Regions from separate parts of the Homo sapiens genome. Here region 1 is linked to region 2. The links are contacts of gene promoters, found by promoter capture Hi-C in blood cells and fetal thymus (Javierre and others, 2016). All regions are on one chromosome and are shown on one strand. Each heading gives the region's core, a stretch centred on a gene start or on the middle of the fragment in contact. The rest is flanking DNA. Distances are from core to core; before and after follow the strand shown.

Evidence for each region. The method cuts DNA at HindIII sites, captures the fragments that hold promoters and counts their contacts. A CHiCAGO score of 5 or more calls a contact.
Region 1: a fragment that was not itself captured here is called in contact with the fragment with the promoter of LEO1 in region 2 in 1 of 17 cell types (non-activated CD4 T cells); the score reaches 5.3 in non-activated CD4 T cells.

What each region holds. Positions count from the first base shown.
Region 1 is chr15:52,598,170-52,601,453 of GRCh38, reverse strand. ATOSA (atos homolog A) reads left to right here. Exons shown (of 13, transcript NM_001385016.1): 8 at 289-368; 9 at 1,219-1,327. Among named protein-coding and RNA genes, the nearest start is that of ARPP19, 31 kb to the right of the region's middle. The HindIII fragment of the contact is 2,787 bases long and covers 356-3,142 here.
Region 2 is chr15:51,970,187-51,973,207 of GRCh38, reverse strand. It overlaps LEO1 (LEO1 component of Paf1/RNA polymerase II complex), which reads left to right and starts at 1,430. Exons shown (of 12, transcript NM_138792.4): 1 at 1,430-1,520. The coding sequence starts at 1,463. It also overlaps a transcript of MAPK6 not described here. RefSeq lists enhancers at 1,161-1,736, 1,384-1,913, 1,737-2,313. The HindIII fragment of the contact is 6,227 bases long and covers 689-3,021 here.

The DNA.
Region 1 (3,284 bases), core at 500-2,999, 630 kb before region 2:
TATATATTGGAATTCCATGCAGGGTTTGGTTTTGGAAAAAAATGTTTCTGCTTCTTAAAAAATCAAAACCTAGTAAAAGTGCTTTTATTTGTCATCTGTTTTTTCAACACTAATAAAATAACATAAGAACAATATGTAATGAACAGCATGATTTTAAATAAGCTATTATAGGAGAAGTTGTAATATTTCAAAGATATGCTTAAATTTCATTTAAAAAGTGTTTTATCAATTCAAGAAAAAAATTAACAGTTTTTTTTTTAATATCACAAATGATCGTTTTGACCTTAGGTTCCTCAAAGAAAAACACAATCAGGTTGCTTTGATCTGGATTCTTCATTACTACATCTGAAAAGCTTCTCATCTAGAAGGTATTTATCTCAAAATTCATTTGTGTGTTTCAAACAGAATTTCACAAAATTCTGGTCTTTAACAATAAATAATGTTGATTCTAAACATCAGAATTGTAACAGGAATCTTATTTAGAGTATGATACCATGTACACACGCAGTTATTAAGGATGAGTGTGGAAGAAATTAAGGCAATGAGTAGCAACTATATAGTGGTCATCATAATAAACTCTTACATTGGTTTTAAGTGGTTTTATATATTTCTAGTTATTAACCTCTACTACCTTTTACTCTTTGACGGAAAAAAAAAAAACAACCTTGGCCATTTTTTTCCGTGTTGGCAAATAATACTCTGATTATAATCTTTAGTCACACAATTTTGCCCTTGTATTCTCATTCTTAACTGAAAATAAGATTGATATAGAAGTCTGCATTATTATTTATTTCCAGTAGATGCCACTATGTGATATGTTCTAAATTCCACCTCGAAACCTTTTAGGATGTGTGTATGTGTGTTTATAAAATATAAAATATAAAGAAAGATAAAATCTGGGAATTTAAAACTTGAAATTTTATATTTTAAAATTTGATAACATTAATTTATTATGGTAGTTTGAGTAGAGTTCAGATTTTCTTAATTTTGTACAAAAGTAAATAATATTGTGCCTTGGCTTGGTGACTCACACCTGTAGTCTCCAGCACTTTGGGAGGCTGAGGCAGGAGGATTGCCTGAAGCCAGGAGTTTGAGCTGTATGAGCTATGATGGTGCCACTGTACTCCCGCCTGGGTGACAGAGTGAGACCCTGTCTCAAGATTAAAAAAAAAAGTATTGTGGCTAATGTGTTCTTTTGCTGATTTGTTTTTCTAATAGTCCTCGACCATGTTTAAACATTGAAGATGATCCAGATATTCATGAAAAACCATTTTTGAGTTCTAGTGCTCCACCTATAACAAGTCTTAGTCTCCTAGGAAATTTTGAGGTAATGTGCTTTGAAACTGTTCTTTAAATGAAAATTTTATACCCTAGGTTCTAGGGTGTCATTTTATATGTCTTTAACTTTGGTTGTGAAAAGGAAAGAAATAATTGTCTTTTTTCAAGCCTTGAAATTACCTTTTTATTTTATTTTCACAAGAAGGGAAATCAGAATTGTTGGCAGTGATGTCTTAGAATTGGATAGCTGGTAGTGGAGAAGAGAAGACCTGATGAAATCAGGTTGGATTGAGGAATCTGTTACTTAAGCCGGGAGCATAGATTTGACCACATCTTCTTACTTGGTAAAATTGGGTCTAGGACCCAGAGAAAATAGTGGTGGGCTAATAGCAGCCCCCTCATAATCAGGGAAGTTGATTTGCAAAACCAAAAGGTTTTCTGTACTTTATTTGCAACTTTTTTGTAAATCTGCAGCTATTCTAAAGTAACAAGGTTATTTTTTAAAAATTCAAATAAAGATTTCTGATATGTTTACTCACAATATTTCTACTTGGGGTCAAGTAGAAATCATGGGTTTCAATTGTCTGTAATTAGAAATCAGCTTAACCTTAAACACGAACTTGTAAATGACATTTTTAAAGTGATTTTAACTGGTGAGTTTTTTAGGAGAAAATAATTAAAATTTTATATTTTTAAGATAAATAGTTTTACAGGAGTTGTGTTTTGATATATTAACCATTTGCTTTATAACTATTTTAATAGTGAAGCTATCTTTCACAGTCTTAGTGGAAATGAAAAGATATTTCATGGTAAGTCTTTTCCATGTCAATTCCAAGGTATCAGTTCAGAGATGTCAAGCTCTCTATTCCTCTTTGTCATCAAATTAAAATTGCATAGGCCATTGTTAGGGTCGGGTGGCTCAGCAACCTTTGTACTACAAGAAATTATTTTTCTTGCTCCTTTTGAGACATGTACTACAAAAAATGTATAAGTGAAAAAGAGAGCAGTCTGATATGTCAAAACTTTGGAAAAGGGAATGTATTAGACTGTTTTTGCATTGCTATAAAGAAAGGCCAGAGGCTGGATAATTTATAAAGAAAAGAGGTTTAATTGGCTCACAGTTCTGCAGGCTTTACATGAAGCATGGTGCTGGCATCTGCTTCTGATGAGGCCTCAGGGAGCTTTTACTTATAGTGGTAGGCAAAGTGGGAGCAGGCACATCATATGGTGAGAGCAGGAACAAGAGAGCAAGGAGGGAGGTGCCATATGCTTTTAAACAACCGGATCTCGTAAGAACCTACTGTTGCAAGGACAGAACCAAGCTATTTGTGAAAGATCCACCTCCATGACCGAAATACCTCCTACCAGGCCCCACCTTCAATTTTGGGGATTACATTTCAACATGAGATTTGAAGGGGACAATATGCAAACCATGTCAGGGAAGATAGTTAAAGATCAGTACACAGTTTTTTTCAGACGATTCTATTTGTGCAGATATACATACATTTTCCAAGTGACTTAAGAAATAGAGATGTTCTGAGACTATCCAACCCATAGGTCTTATTTATAATGAATTTGATGTTTTCTTCAGTAAATTACAGAAGATATTTCCTCTGCTTAGTGAATTTGACATTCTGTGCAATAAAAGATGGGGTTAGACTTGAGTCACTAAAATGACACATTAGACTTGTTTAATGAAAACAGGGCAAAGTCTTATCCCTGTAATGTTGTTGGGGGAAATCATGATCCTTAGACATTATTTGTGGGGCATTAGGTGGAGTCTGGAAACACATGGACACAGAATAACACCCAAATAGTCTAATAGCTAATAGTCACCTTTTCTTGCCACCATTTAGAGCAAGCTTGTCCAGCCTGCGGCCCAGGACAGCTTTGAATGCAGCCCAACACAAATTCGTAAACTTTCTTAAAATGTTGTTAGATTTTTTTTGTGATTTTTTTAAGCTCATCAGCTATTGTTAATGAGTGTGTATATGTAAGTATCTATA
Region 2 (3,021 bases), core at 181-2,680:
AAAAGCTCTAGGATTGATGATTACATACCCAGTCCCACCCATTTGGACCCTGTTAAGCACTGAAGTTTACTACAAAAATATATATCATATAATCTCCAAACTAAATATTCATTGTTGCTTGTCCAAGACCAAAACTCTCATAATGGCCTAATTAGGTAATGTAACACAGGATGTACTCTTTTCTCACTTTTTCTTCTAAGAAACAGAGCCTTACTCTGTCACTCAGGCTAGAGTGAAGTGGCGTGATCATAGCTCACTGCAGCCTCCAACTCCTGGGCTCAAGTGATCCTCCATTCTCAGTTTCCTGAGTAGCTAGGGCTACAAATGCATGCCATCATGCCTGGCTAATGTTTTTATTTTTAATTATTTTATTTTATTATTATTATTTTTTTGAGATGGAGTCTCGTGCCCAGGCTGGAGTGCAGTGGCGCGATCTCGGCTCACTGCAAGCTCCGCCTCCTGGGTTCACGCCATTCTCCTGCCTCATCCTCCCTAGTAGCTGGGACGACAGGCGCCCACAACCACGCCCGGCTAATTTTTTTTATTTTAGTAGAGACGGGGTTTCACCGTGTTAGCCAGGATGGTCTCGATCTCCTGACCTCGTGATCCACCCGCCTCGGCCTCCCAAAGTGCTGGGATTACAGGCGTGAGCGACCGCGCCCGGCCAAAAAAATGGTCATTTAAAGCTTAAAAAAGCTGTTTGTTAACATGTATATTATTTTTAAATGAATTAGTAACTTAAAAATTTATTACCGTATTAGTAAGAATACAGTAAATATCAATACCCGTACCTGTAATCCCAGCACTTTGGGAGGCCGAGGCGGGCGGATTGCCTGAGCTCCTGAGTTTGCGACCAGCCTGGGCAACACGGTGAAACCCCGTGTCTACTAAAATACAAAAAATTAGCCGGGTGTGGTGGCGGGCGCCTGTCGTCCCAGCTACTCGGGAGGCTGAGGAATTAGAATTGCTTGAACCCGGACAGTGGAGGTTGCTGTGAGCCGAGATCGCGCCACTGCACTCCAGCCTGGGCGACTGAGCGAGACTCCGTCTCAACAATTTTTAAGAGGGTAAAGGGGTTTGGGATGAAATAACTGGAGAACAGCTGCTCAGTAAGAAACAAAGGGCTTCAATCCTGACTCGCGATAGGTTTAATCCAGCCAGAGGCCCTTCCCCAGAGAGCGCCAGTCACCGCCCACCCCATCCACACCCGCAACCGAACGCAGGACCCCCCCGCCCCCTGGTAAGAATCCTGGCAAATAACAGATATTGACGAAATGGCCGGGCTTATATACCATGCATACCCAGGCGAGAACAGGTTCACTGGGCGAGCGAAAACTAGGTCACGTAAGGAAAGGAGTGTCTTCGGCGAATCTTTGCGACACTGTCGTGTTTCAGTGGTTCCGTGCCGTAAAGAGAGGCCGGGAGCTGCCCCTAACCGAGGCAGCAGCGGACGTGAGCGATAATGGCGGATATGGAGGATCTCTTCGGGAGCGACGCCGACAGCGAAGCTGAGCGTAAAGGTGGGTTCGCTGGTCTTCGGAGGATGGGTGCGTGGCAGGCCTTCCGCTGTGGGAGCCGGACAACCGTGGAGGCTCCAGCGCCGCGGGCAAGAGGTGGCGTTTCCTCCACTCCTGCCTCAGCGCCCCCTGCACTCCCGGAGGTGCCATCCTCCTCCGGCGGGCAGGATGGAGAGTCAGACAGTCTGCGCCTCGAGGCTCTGGGTGTCGGTGGAGCAGACGGTTCCTGGGAGCTTGTGGAGCGAAAGGGGCGCGGGGCATGGGTGGAAGTGCAGGCGAGCCTGCGCAGCGCGGGTAGGAACGTTGGAGTCCTGTTCCGCCTTGCCTTGCACAGGCCAGCGTAGAGTAAGGGCTGTTTTTGAATGAATGGAAATGAATGCAGGAATATGGGATGGGGTGGGCGAATTTACAGAGGGCCTCAGAATGCCGTCTTGAATGAAACCAGAGCATGGTGTGATAGGGAGCTTGAGATGTCTGGATGACGAGTCTGGGACGGATAATGGGATGGGGTTACAGATAGATGTTTCACATAGGAGAGAATGTGTTCTCTAAGAGCTTGTGCAGAAACTCCAGAATTTCCGGAGTCTGTGATGTTAGATTGGGGAGTGCATGGGGTCTGTGTACAGAGAGGAGGAATGAAGGATTTGTTGATGAAATGAATGAATTAGTGTATGTGCATGCTGCTTGGAAGTTATTTCTGGCACAGGATTGTGGGTGTTTTTTTAAAGTTTACTTTTTTAGAGACAGGGTCTCACTGTGTTGCTCAGGTTGGCCTTGAACTTCTGGGCTCAAGCCATCCTTCTGCCTCAGCCTCCAAGTAGTTGAGACTACGGGCACTTGAAATATGAATAGGAGCTATTTGAAGTGAGAACCCAAGACCAAGTTCAGAATTCTTGCAACCCTCTAGGCTCCAAGTAAAGTGAGTCTCTTGTAGACAACATATATCTAGTTGTTATTTTCATCACCCCCAAATAAAACACTGTTCATAAAGCACTTACTCCTCATATGCTCCTTCCTCCAACCCCTGTCTGCTATTGTTTCTGTACTTATCTGTTCTGGGAATTTCATATAAATTGAATCATGCATTGTGGTCTTTTGTGTCTGGTTTCTTTTACTTAGCATAATGTCTTCAAGGCATTGTAGCACATATCAGTACTTTATTCATTTTTAATGATTTAATAATATTCCATTGAATGTGCACACCCTAAATTTGTTAATCCATTTATCTGTTGATGGACATTGGGTTGTTTGAATAGTGCTACTGTAAACATTCCTGGTTCCGGCAGGCGGATTTGCCTGAGCTCAGGAGTTGAAGACCAGCCTGGGCAACATGGTGAAACCCTGTCTCTACTAAAAATACAAACTGTTAGCCAGGTGTGGTCGTGCGTGCCTGTAGTCCCAGGTACTCAGAAGGCTGAGGCATGAGAATCACTTGAACCCAGGAGACAGAGGTTGGCAGTGAGCTGAGATTGCATCACTTCACTTCAACCTGGGTGATAAAGTG